Linked DNA regions of Homo sapiens: regions 1 and 2 are each linked to region 3. Evidence: promoter capture Hi-C in 16 types of primary human blood cells and fetal thymus (Javierre and others, 2016). All regions are on one chromosome and are shown on one strand. Each heading gives the region's core, a stretch centred on a gene start or on the middle of the fragment in contact. The rest is flanking DNA. Distances are from core to core; before and after follow the strand shown. Region 1 has its middle 42 kb from the start of LLPH. Region 2 overlaps MSRB3 (methionine sulfoxide reductase B3). Region 3 holds the start of HMGA2 (high mobility group AT-hook 2).

Region 1 (4,470 bases), core at 930-3,429, 260 kb after region 3:
TTCTCCTCTTATGTGTACCTCTGGAACTTTGCTATCTCTCATTAATATTCTTCTGATTATTGGTCCCCAATTTTGCTTCATGTCTCTCCTTAATGTTCTTCTGATTATTGGTCCTCAGTTTTGCTTCAGTCTCAAATAGTTTTGTCATGCAACTTGAGTCTCTGATCTTCCAATCTGTCCTTTAGTTTTTGTTTGTACTCCACCACATCTTCTTTGACCACTTACCCAGTGAGAAAATATCCACACAGAGACAGTGGAAGGTTTTGTTCAGACTTTCCACTCAAGGCAATGGTTTTTTTTGGTTAAAGGATTGCTTATCTTCCAAATACTATATCTATCACTAAATTCTAAGAGTTATTCCCTACTCTAAAACCTTTAGGTTTGAGTGTGGGCTGGAATCTGAGATAGAGTGGCATTCCTATACTAAACTATATCCATATATCTTCTCATCTTGATCTTGCTGTACGTGTTTGTGTACATAATTCCACATAGATGCATATAGCAAAATAGAAACATTTATTTCAGTTGTTCTTTAAAAACACACAAAGTATCGCACTGCATTTCTCTTTCTTCCTATGAGTGCGTTTCTTTCACAGGGGTATTTAGATAACCAAAAATATTCTCCTGAGTTTTCCTGAGCATTGGTATGACACATAACCACTAAACCTCATATTAAGAAAAAGCTGGCTTAAATAAGAAATTGAAAAATCTGCCTGCAAATAATACTGTAAAAGTTTACAGTCCATCCTAACCATCAAGGATATTTTCCATAACTTTAGGGTTTGATAGTAAAATATATACACACACATATGTATGTTTCTAATAACACAGCACTAAAGTAAAATAAACCTGCTTGTCCAAATACGGTTGCGTTTCAGTCAAAGTTTTGCTTAATGTTTTGAGAAGCGCTTTGGTGAAGATAAATATTCTCAGCCTTAGATTTTATGTCAGATGCTCAGGGTGCCATCTACTGGCCGACTCTGGATTGGGACAGTTTTGTTTTCGGTAGGAACCAAACTCCATGTTGCCACTGATCCACAGCTTCAATGGTGGCCCAATTTTAAGATAATGCCATCTGTGTTGATTTCCTTTTTCAGAGAAGGACATCCAGATTGTTGAGTTTTATTAGAATGAGAAGGCATTTTGTTTTTGAACAGCGATCTTTCTTTCTTCTTTTTTTTTTTTTTTTTTTTGACAGAATCTTGCTCTGTCCCCCAGGCTGGAGTGCAATGGCGTGATCTCTGCTCATGACAACCTCCGCCTCCTGGGTTCAAGCGATTATCCTGCCTCAGCCTCCTGAGTAGTTGGGATTACAGGCGTGTGCCACCATGCCTGGCTAATTTTTGTATTTTTAGTAGAGACCGGGTTTCACCATGTTGGCCAGGCTGGTCTTGAATTCCTGACCTCAGGTGATCCACCCGCCTCAGCCTCCCAAAGTGCTGGGATTACAGGCGTGAGCCACCGAGCCTCGTTGAACAGCGATGTTTCTAATGACACGAGGCCTGAGCTGCGTACTGCCCTGTCACATCAGATTGCTGTGTAACTGCAACCCGATGCCTTGCTCTGTCTGGGACTGTCTGAGTATCAGGTTGAGGATAGGGAGCACGACTGGCCAACTATGTCTTCATGGAAATACCATCCTGGGAGCATACAGCATTCCCAGTAAAGTGATGCCCATGAGAAACGAGGGAAGGGGTTGTGTGTTGGTGCCAACACAGCCATCTCTCTGAAAAAAGAGGCCTCCTTTCTGCCCTGCAGAAGCCAGGAGGTTACTGCAGGCTGCAGAAGATGTGCACCTTCCCAAGAGATTTTTTGGCAAGTTCTCTCTTGAGGTCCCTTCCTGGAGAGCAGGTCCAATGCCTTCCTCCTTCATGATCTGCCCAATGACTGCATGCTCATTTTATGGTATTTTATCTTTCAGAAGCCAAGCTTGTGCCGCCCGGCCCCTTTAATGTTTTCTGTGTCTCAGGTGCAAAAGGGTTCTTGTGGACATTCCACACAACAATAACGAATCCATTTATCATCCTGCCCAGCCCCCTGTGGAGCTGCTCTGAGTTCAGAGCTCCCACCGGCCTTGACGCTTTTGAAGGTGAGTCCACCTCGGCCACAGCCAGAGGGTTTCAGAGCTGCCCCAGTTGTTGTTGAAGCTGGGGACTGAGCAATCATGGCCGTTTTACCCAAGGGGGTTGTCCACAAATCAGGAAGTGTCCTGTATGTCTCTGTGTGGAGACCACCTGATCATACTTCTAAAATCTCTTTTTTATTAAAAAAAATTTATGAAGAAACCATTTTCCAAGAATTAAATTAAATTCCAAACCTGATGTGTATGTTGAGGCTAGAATCCAAGATTCAGAGGAGGATAGAGTCCCTCTTCAACCAAGTATCAAGCTAGCCCCTTTGAAATGCTGTGATTGCCTGAGGTGGCTAAAAAAAGCTTATGTAAAAAAAAAAAAATTGGTAGAAATTGGGAATCAAAGATAATGTCTTCACCCTTTACATCAAACACAGGTTTATTTGTATGTCCTTAAAAATATTCACATGAGCCCAGCACAGTGGCATGCGCCTGTCTTCCCAGATACTTGGGAGGCCGAGGCTGGAGGATCACTTGAGCCCAGGATTTCGAGGGCAGATTGGGCAACATAGCAGGGCCCCTATTCACATGACTTATGCAACAATATCAGAAGCATACTGATCATTTTAACAATTAGTCTCTCTCCCTGAGAAATAAGAATAGAAACTTGGAAAAGACCGTGGTGTTTCCAAGAGCATACAGCATAAAGTCCTGGACCCCAAAGAGAATTTTAAACAACACATTCTACAAGCATAAGTGATTTAAAAAATAAAGGTTGTTCACAAACATTGTTTTATCTTAAAGAGCCAGTCTCACTTCAGTTGGCACAGAAAAGAGACATAGAAAAAAATGGATGTGTCCCGAAAGATTTGATGATGATGAAAACACTGCTACAAACCAACTAATACTTCACATGTCAGTATGGTAGACGGAGGTTTCATTATCCAAAACAAGATGGCGGTTTTTCTGCCTAAGAAATCTGGACTAAGAAGACTTTCAGAAAATGATATGTCTTCAATAATTTAACCAAAAATGAAGGGATACAAAACAGATTTGTGAAGCTCAGAGAAAGAATACAAGATAAAATATTGACATCTTCTGTTGTGTCCATTCAGGATCCAAATCCAGCTCATATAATTTGCAACTATTTGACTGGATAAAGGAACATAATAGAGGTGCGAGTTTTAGCCTGGGGCTTTTAAAGATTATCTTTAAAGTTTTCCAAATAAAGCTAACAATTTGAAAGTACTGTTTTTACTACAAGAAGGAGCCCAGTGATTCTAGAAGAACACCAGAAACATGGCACATCCAGGAAACAAAAAATGCCTCTATTGAGTTAGAACAATGAGCTTATCTGCACAGCACAGAGAAACTAAGGTAATCTATTCAGTGCCTAAACTTCCTGCTATTCCAAGCATTCATTGGTCTTTTTCTAAAGAAAGGTACCACACGTTCTGAATTTCCTGTAACTGATTTCCTGTTATATTCCAAGGATCTGCTGGGATCTAAAGAGTACAGCAAAGGAAAATTAAGGCATGTTGAGTTCAATGAAAGAAAGAAAGGCGTGATGAAGGGAAAGAGAGAAGAAAATATCCAGAGAAGAGAGAGAGGGGAAAAGAGAGAAATCATCAGAGAGACGAGAGGAGGTGAGGGGATGAAGTCAAGAGAGAAAAAGTGGCAGAGAAAGGAAGTTGAAGGAAAGAGGAAGGAAAAAAGGAAGTGAGGAAAAGCCATAAGGGAAAAAAATCAACAGAGAAAAGATAGAGAAAGAGGGAAAGGGACGCAATTTCAAGAGGGAAAAAAATGAAAATGCCAAAGGGCAGGTTGGGAGAGGAAGATTCCTGGAGAGGAATCGAAATAATAAAATCATTATCCAGTCATTGAGAAACTCAGCAGGTCAGAGCTGGAAGGAATATTATAAGACATCTTGTGCAACCCTTCTGAATACAGATTCATAAAAAGAGGCCCAGGGAGGTTAAAAAACAAAATGGAAGCCACATAGATGAATACTGTTTTTGAAAAAAAAAATTCTTAGTAACAAAAGAAATAGGTGCCTTAAAGGCAGCTTTTTTGAAAATTGAATGTCTGACCAGTACCTCCACACCTTGTACTGATGTTGCATGTTAGTCTGAGAGCTGGGAATGGACGCAGGGTATCAGTAAGTGGTCCATATCCTGAAAGAATTCAGAAGCAATTGTTATTCAGCATTGTCTGTATCATTACTTGGCTCGAAATCAACTCCCAGTGCAACTGACAGCTCCATAATCCAAGAGAAGTACAAAAATAAAAGAGCAGTAATAACAAAAATCGAACCTGTCTGGTATTTAGAAGAGAGTAAGAGCTTGAACTCCAGGATTAGGCTGCCTCGCCGTGAAACCTCCCTGAATCACCATCTGGGT
Region 2 (4,272 bases), core at 1,292-3,791, 500 kb before region 3:
CCTCCTTCAGGGCTTTGCTCAAATATCACCTCAGTGAGACTTCTTTGGCCACTCTATTTAAGATTATAATCCTTATTCCTTTCACTCCCAGTCCTCCAGTTTTCCTTTTTCCTTCCTGAATACTTACCACCTTCTAAGAGACTATATAATTTACTTACTTATTTTCATTGTAGTTTGTCTGTCTTCCCTTACTCCTGCTGGAATGGGAGCTCCAGGAAAGTAGATCTAAGTACTTAGATCTATTTAGTACTCCAGGAAAGTATCCTAAGTACTTAGAATAGTGCCAGCAGATAATAGGTACTCAATAAATAATTATTGAACTAATGTATATATCTTACTTAGCATAGTGTCTGACACTTTGTAAACACTCAACATTTTTGATGACTTAATTTAAGAAAAAATCTTGGATCAGTGGTCCTCAAAGTAAACCCTGCAGCTCTAGTTTTGTGGAAACCAGAGGACTGAAGCAAAAGTGTCCTGACATCTTAGACTGTATGTTAATCTCAGGAATGTTTTTCCTATATATGTCTACTTTGAGAGAAAAATCAGAATTAGGTATGGTTCTACAAATATAGGAGCTTTTCTTCCTCCATGCTTTGTAGGTTTGTCTTATCTTAAAGCCTTTATTGAATTACTAGAATGCAAACAAACAAAAAATGATAGTTATGGTATATATTTTATATTTTATTCTAAAAAATGGTCTAAATTTGACTTTTCCAAATGGCCAATTATTTAGAAATTCTAACACTATACTATGCCTGAAGTAAAAATTTGCTTAGTTTTCCAGTGACAAACTAATAACCAACCAAATTTACAGTGAAAAATAAAGTATACCACCTTTAAATATAGCAGCAAGGTATTTCAACATGAACTTTACTGTTTTAACCTACTAAACTCAAAGCAAAACAAGACATTCTTATCTCTTATTCATTTATTATCTTGGGAAAATATTTAATAGTTTCGTTTTTTCTGATTCTAGAACCAAAATTAAAGTTATGGGATCCTTAGGTTTTGTTTTGTTTTGATTTTTCACACCGAAATATAAAATTTATGACTTAAAAGTACTCTAAGGTTTAGGTAACAGATCTAATTTACTTCTTAATAGGAAGTTAAAAAAGCCTTTCAACGTTTCATAGACTTTGTGAGAATCCTGTATGAAACTTGTCACTGACCCTATGTTGAAGGAGTAAATACAGGGAAAAGAGACATTGGCTAATAGATAAATGTATGTAACTTTTCTGATGTACTGAGGTGATTATTACTTTTTCCCCCTTATTATTTTGTTAGTTTTTAAGCTGAAAGTTATTGTATAGTTAGAGAAGAAAGAAGAAAAGTTGTTACATAATTTTTCCTGACAAAATATGATGACTGGCTGGGTGTGGTGGCTCACACCTGTAATCCCAGCACTTTGGGAGGCCGAGGCGGGCAGATCACCTGAGGTCAGGAGTTCGAGACCTGGCCATCATGTCGAAACCCCATCTCTACCAAAAATACAAAAATTACCCGGGTGTGGTGGTGGGCGTCTGTAATCCCAGCCACTCTGGAGGCTGAGGCTGAGGCAGGAGAATCGCTTGAATCCGAAATGCAGAGGTTGCAGTGAGCTGAACTCACACCACTGGACTCCAGCCTGGGTGACAGAGCGAGACTCCATCTCAAAAAAAAAAAAAAAAAAAAAGAAGAAGAAAGAAAATATAACAACTATGAGTTTTGCAGTCAGACAGCCCTGGGTTTGAGTTGATAAGTCTACTTGCTGTTTGTCCTTAATAAGGTATGTTATAACCTCTCCACGCCTCAGTTTCTGTATCTGTAAAATGGGCATGACAGCCACGTTCTAGAATTATTGAGAAGATTAAATGTATTTATGTGAAAGTGCCTAGACATGTGCCTGGCATGTAGGAGGACTCAAATTTTAGTTTTATTTTCTTCCTTCATTTCCCACTTTAATCATAAAAACAAGATAAGGTGTGAGGAAAATACTGTTCCCAGGGAATTATTATAGAAAAAGAATTACCAATAAAAGATTGCTGCACACTAAATACTGGACCTGGCTATCTTTTAAAATACAATTTTAACCTCAGAATTCACTGTAATCAAAATGAAGTAAGTGCTAATGGCTGTGATCCTTATAGCAGATCTTTGAGGGTGGCAACACATAGCAAAGGTGACTTGCTTCAGGTCACGTGGCTGGGAAGCAGGCAGAGCCACAAAGCAAACTGTTGCTGTACGTTTATTTGTACTAATAGCAAGAGCTTCATACTGGGGCTTCGAAACAATACTGGCCTTGAGGCAACAACACAGGACAAGCTTCGCTATAAAAAGAGACTTTGGACATATTTCAATAAATAAAATATCCTTGGACTATGTTCAAGATGGAACTGATCTATCTCAAAGTTACTCTGTAAGGAACGGTGTTATGATTAGATACCAAAATGGCAATATTATCTCCTCAAATATGTAATTGTGTTACATGTGTGTACACACACACTCACTTGTGCCTTCAAAAGACACTATTAAACATTTAAATAAAGGGAAAAATCTTTCCCAAACATACTTCTAAGCCAATTTAGAGGTCATTGAACAGATGTCATATAATACTAATGTTAAATTACCCTGTGTAATAAGAAAATTACAGTACCTAAGTGAAGATAGTAAAGGGAAACCATCCAATGAATTACTCCAGAATTTCAAAATGAAATGATTTTTTCAAGATTAACAGTGGCACCATATGACTTTAGAAAAGTGAGTCTGATAGGGAGAAGGGAAATAAGAGACAAAAGTGAAGCTTTTCTGTGTTTATATATACCAATATTTGGTTCTGATGATAGAAGGGCTAATGTAATAGTATAGCTTTAAATTGTCCAGGAAGTATATTATTATTATTAAATGGTGTGGCAAGATATTTATTAAAATCTGACCAACTTCTCATTGAATTGTTTAATGTAAAATCACAATAGTTGTTTCTAGTCTACATATATTTCCTTTTGGTATTAGATATACTTTGAAAACCTAATTATTTTGAGAATATAGTATAACCAAAGAATGAAAATGTACAAAGTTTGACAACTTTAAATAATCACTAGTATTTCTTAAAGGACAAACCTCACTTACAGTTAGGAAACAATATTTATACTTAAGGTTGAAAAGCCAGGATGTAAAAAAATTTTGCTAATTTGGAAGATGACCTTTAAGTGCACCAAAACCAAATAATTTGTAGGCTATGACATAGGGCACATTCCTACAAAATTTGTGTGAATACTGCTTTAGTGGTTCTTGAAAGACAAACAAAGAAAGCTGGAATGAAATCTTTATTCCCCTCCCAAATAAGACGGAGACTAACAAAGGAGTACAGCAGCACTCTTTCAAGGCTTGCCATTAAAACGAGGTCTCTGTAGCACAGTTAATGAGATGTTTCATAGTGGAAAACAATCTGTTTTTAAGAATGTTTAGATCAAAAGTAATTTCTAATCTATGAAATAAAGTCTCTTCAATACCCTTCATTCACTAGTAAAGCTTTTATGTTTGTATTATTTACTTCAATCAGATGTTTTCAATTTTACCTTTTTTTCTTGTACAAATACTTGACATGGTTCATCAATACTGACCAACGGTTTTATTCTCTTCGGAAAAGAGAGATTCATGAGAGAGGGAGAATGAAAAAGAGAGAAACATCTTTGCCTAAATGATTTGCAAGCATCTGTGCTTTAAGCTACTTTTTATGAACACTCCTTAGTAAATGACTCAAGGTAAAAAGGCAGAAAAGCATCCAATGTTAGGAAATTGCAATCCAATACCATGTAATTTAAACCTGCAGTTGCTTCTCTTGTACTAAATGACATACAGATGGGTAGCTTAGTTCTCTCAACTTTGGGAACACAATTGGTCTTTTTGTATGAATGAACGTATATTAACAAAAATATTTTGGATAGAATTGTTTGATTTTAATTGTACATATTTTAATTATGCCATTGAAAAGAATAATTTTAACCAAGTCATTTTGTCATGTTAAGTTTGCATTTAATGATTTTGTGACAGTATTAACTAAGATACAACCCTTCCAACAAACACATGAGAATAAAATAATTTTTAAGAAGTCTGTACTGAATTAAGCAGAAACTCACCTATCACTGTTGACTGATTATTTAAGAAAGAGCCACTTTGCATTCAAGCTATTGAGAGGCTTGTTCTGATAGGACAGACATTTCTCAGGGAAACATTTCTACCTAACCGTTGATAACAGCAAAAATACAAGTAGTAGGTATTTGGATAAAGCCT
Region 3 (4,215 bases), core at 132-2,631:
CTGCCGCGCCAAAGCAGACATTTACACGCGCCTCCTCCACATGCACAGCGGAACCTGGCGGTGCCTAACTCCTGCTTAGGGCTGCAAAGTAGGCGTTTTTATTCCACGGTGGTCTGTATCTTTGAAAAAAATAAATTCTTCCCCAGGTGAAAGTTTTTATTTTGGAATTAGTCCAAAATAATTTTGGGTGTGATGTGTGAAAATCTGAACCTAATTTTTTCAGAGTTTTGTGTTATTCAAGGATGAAAAGAGGTACATTTAAAAATGTACTCCACCTTTTAAAAACGGACTGTGGCCATTATGGTGTTCACATAACTCAGAACAGCCCAGGCCATAAAATTAGGACTTGGCAGAAAGAGAGTTCTCAGGCAGAAGGTTAAATCGAGGTAAACTGAAGGGAGAGTTGGGCAGTGAGTGCAATTGTGGTGTTAGGAATCTACAAGGTGCCCTTTACCCTGGGAACATCGGATTCCCGGGGAGGGGGATGGGGAGGGAACTTCGGTTGCCTCTAGTCTTTCCTGGAGAAAAAAGTTCAATGAAGAAGCTGGGGCGCTCTGTGTGTGCACATTGTTTGCATGTGTCTGCGAATGTGCATGTCTATCTGCGTGCCTGTGTGTATGTGTGTGTGTGTAAATGCGGGTGTTTACCAGCGCATGAATGCCCCCGTGTCCACGTGTATCTGCGTGCATGTGCTTACACGCGTGTTCGTGTGTATCTGCATGCATGTCTCCGTGTATGTGCGCGCTCGCCCGCCCGCAGGCTCTGTGGTGAGGGCATTCCGAGGCGGAGTACGGCTGTCAGGGGACCTCTCCCACTCCACTGCAGTCCCTTCCCACTCACAGTGAACCGGTGCGCTGCCTGAGGTGCAGCCTAGACGCTTCCTGCAAAGTGTTGGCTCGGCACGGTAGAGGCGCAGGTAAAGGCCAAGCCCCGAAACGTGGCTCCGGGACAGTCACGTTCCCGCGCCTTCCCAGGACAACTGCCCAGGGGTGACCTCGAGAGGCGGGTGGAGCTAGGCCCACGGCGAGCCAGCCCGGGATCCCCGGCCTGTCCCTTTAACCCCGCCGCCGGGCGGGAGCACGTGAGCGGGGCTCCGGGTGGCACCCGGGCGCCGCCGCCGCCGAGGCAGTTGTATTTCGAACGCTGCCTCTGGCTAGCAGCCAGGCGCCTTGGCTCGGCGGTCCGCCTGGCCTCCCTCCTCCTCATACTTTTCTTCCTGCGCAACCCCCTCCCCTTTATCCGCCCACGATTAGAGGTGGGCACTCCCCCCACCACCACCCCCTCCCCAAGCGCAAGCGCGTGCACGCACACACACCACACACACTCACACTCACACACACTCACACACACTCATCCCACTTGAATCTTGGGGCAGGAACTCAGAAAACTTCCAGCCCGGGCAGCGCGCGCTTGGTGCAAGACTCAGGAGCTAGCAGCCCGTCCCCCTCCGACTCTCCGGTGCCGCCGCTGCCTGCTCCCGCCACCCTAGGAGGCGCGGTGCCACCCACTACTCTGTCCTCTGCCTGTGCTCCGTGCCCGACCCTATCCCGGCGGAGTCTCCCCATCCTCCTTTGCTTTCCGACTGCCCAAGGCACTTTCAATCTCAATCTCTTCTCTCTCTCTCTCTCTCTCTCTCTCTCTCTCTCTCTCTCTCTCTCTCTCTCTCTCGCAGGGTGGGGGGAAGAGGAGGAGGAATTCTTTCCCCGCCTAACATTTCAAGGGACACAATTCACTCCAAGTCTCTTCCCTTTCCAAGCCGCTTCCGAAGTGCTCCCGGTGCCCGCAACTCCTGATCCCAACCCGCGAGAGGAGCCTCTGCGACCTCAAAGCCTCTCTTCCTTCTCCCTCGCTTCCCTCCTCCTCTTGCTACCTCCACCTCCACCGCCACCTCCACCTCCGGCACCCACCCACCGCCGCCGCCGCCACCGGCAGCGCCTCCTCCTCTCCTCCTCCTCCTCCCCTCTTCTCTTTTTGGCAGCCGCTGGACGTCCGGTGTTGATGGTGGCAGCGGCGGCAGCCTAAGCAACAGCAGCCCTCGCAGCCCGCCAGCTCGCGCTCGCCCCGCCGGCGTCCCCAGCCCTATCACCTCATCTCCCGAAAGGTGCTGGGCAGCTCCGGGGCGGTCGAGGCGAAGCGGCTGCAGCGGCGGTAGCGGCGGCGGGAGGCAGGATGAGCGCACGCGGTGAGGGCGCGGGGCAGCCGTCCACTTCAGCCCAGGGACAACCTGCCGCCCCAGCGCCTCAGAAGAGAGGACGCGGCCGCCCCAGGAAGCAGCAGCAAGTCAGTACGAGGGCGCGGTGGGGGCACCAGCCCACCCCGTCCCCACTGCCGGGGCCCAGACACGCGCGGGGCGGCCGGAGTGCGGGAGCCCAGTCGCCGCGGCCGTCGCACACTGCCCGCCGGCCGGCCGGGGGGAGCGGCGCAGACCCCACGAGTGCGCCGCGCGGCCCCGGGGCGCCAGCAACCCTCCGGGCGGGGAGGTGGGGAGCCGCGGCGGGCGGCCCGGGGAAGGCGGGAGGTGGGGTCGGGCGAAGCGCGTCCTCGGACTTTCGCTATTGTGCACGGCCCCGAGTGGCGCGGTGTCGCCCAGTGACTGGAAGCGACCGGGATCCGACAAACCCGGGCTCGCAGGCGCTTTCCGAGTTGCTTTTGCAACTGCCCGGGAGGAAGGAGGTGCCGGGGACCCGGGCGCTTCGGCCGATCTGGGCTGAAGGGGCTAGAGTCTTGGGGGCCGGAGGCTCTTTCTCCCGCCTCCCGGGGCTGCTCGCGGGTCGGGGGCTGGCGCGCCGCAGCCGCCCCCTTGGCGCCCTCCTCCAAGCTCTCGGTGGCCCAAGACTCGCGCCCTCCCGACAAAGAACGCATGGAGACCCGGCTGCCTGGTCCTTTTTGGGCTCTTTAAATATGCGGCGGCCGCCGGAGGGAGCCCGGGGCAGGGGCTACGGGGAGCCTGGTTCCCCGCAGGACGGGGTTAACTCGCCCAGCTAAGGGCGCGTTGAAAGGAGTGTCCAAGAGAGTGCAGGGTAGCCAGGGTCGCTTCCTTGTCAGGGGCCCGGTCCCCCTTTTGCCCCTGGATCTCGCGCCTCAGAGCTGCAGCCATTAAATGCTCTTCTCCAAGGCCAGTGGCCGGGGGTTGAGTAGGGGACGATCGAGGGGCGCCCGGGACCCTGCGGAGTGGAGGGTTTTGTCTGCGGATGCAACCAATTAAGCGTGCAGCCGGCGCTTGCAGAGCTGCGCTCAGCGCGCAGGGCTGGGGGTTTTGTTCGCTGTAATTTCCAAGCCGCGGCGGGCAGAGTTGGAGCGGGATATGTCTATTGAGAACATTTAAACTCCACTTTCTCGGGCTTTAAAACTTGCTCTCTGCTTAGTCTTAAATCGCTTCCTTCATGGCAAACACGCCGATTAGAAAATAATCCTAGAGTCCCAAAGTTGTCCGAGAGCAAGGTGGGGAAACTGAACAATGTTTGCTTGCCAGTGCATTTTAGAAAAATTGAGAGTTGTACCTTTTTGAAATCATCAAAGGAAACAAGCCGATCTAGAGGCCCCTGAGTTTTCCCGCTCTGCCCAAGCGACACTTTACACCGCATTTGAATCCTGTTTTACACCTCCCAGGAAGTCTCTGCCCTCCCCCACTTGTTTCCCACCCGCCACCCAGTTCTAACTCACTAATTGCCCCCCCTCCAAAAAAAAAAAAAAAATCCAAAAGAAATTACAATGGGGTCTGGAGGTGATTGGATACTTTACCTTTGAGTTAAGGCAGAGTTCACAAAGAAAGAAAAATTTGTCTCCGATGTGTTTGCTCTCGATGTGCCCACTGGTGCTAGTGGTCCCACAGAAGCTTGCAGGGAACCTTCCCGAATTCTCTAAATGGGATGCGAATTTTCATTGAGGACGTTCATGGGTTTTAAGTTAATTAGTCTCACTTAATCACCGAATCTGAATGAAATGTGAATAGATGATTCACTGGATAAATATTTGGGATCTGGAATATTAATCATCGCATTCTCTTAACCACTTGAGTATTTACTACTTGGCATAGGAGCCATTTAAAGTTTTGCTAAACCAAGTGATTGCTTCCATTTCTCATTCCCAGACACTCCATTCCTCCTCGCTTTTACCTCCTTTTAGTTTTCTCCACTCCACCCCCATAAGAGTTTTCTCAAAAGAAAGTTTTGAAGAAAATATGTTTATTTTTATCAAAAGATATTTAAATTTAGA

What was found. Contacts are between HindIII fragments. The CHiCAGO score rates a contact against its expected background, and 5 or more counts as called.
Region 1: a contact is called between a fragment that was not itself captured here and the fragment with the promoter of HMGA2 in region 3, in 1 of 17 cell types (endothelial precursors). The highest score is 6.2, in endothelial precursors.
Region 2: a fragment that was not itself captured here is called in contact with the fragment with the promoter of HMGA2 in region 3 in 1 of 17 cell types (endothelial precursors); the score reaches 7.0 in endothelial precursors.

The regions. Positions count from the first base shown.
Region 1 is chr12:66,086,596-66,091,065 of GRCh38, forward strand. No RefSeq gene overlaps it. Among named protein-coding and RNA genes, the nearest start is that of LLPH, 42 kb to the right of the region's middle. The HindIII fragment of the contact is 505 bases long and covers 1,928-2,432 here.
Region 2 is chr12:65,321,007-65,325,278 of GRCh38, forward strand. The region is part of intron 2 of MSRB3 (methionine sulfoxide reductase B3); the gene reads left to right. Among named protein-coding and RNA genes, the nearest start is that of MSRB3, 44 kb to the left of the region's middle. The HindIII fragment of the contact is 478 bases long and covers 2,303-2,780 here.
Region 3 is chr12:65,823,102-65,827,316 of GRCh38, forward strand. HMGA2 (high mobility group AT-hook 2) reads left to right here and starts at 1,382. Exons shown (of 5, transcript NM_003483.6): 1 at 1,382-2,280. The coding sequence starts at 2,170. It also overlaps the pseudogene RPSAP52. RefSeq lists an enhancer at 2,502-3,109. The HindIII fragment of the contact is 7,944 bases long and covers 1-3,833 here.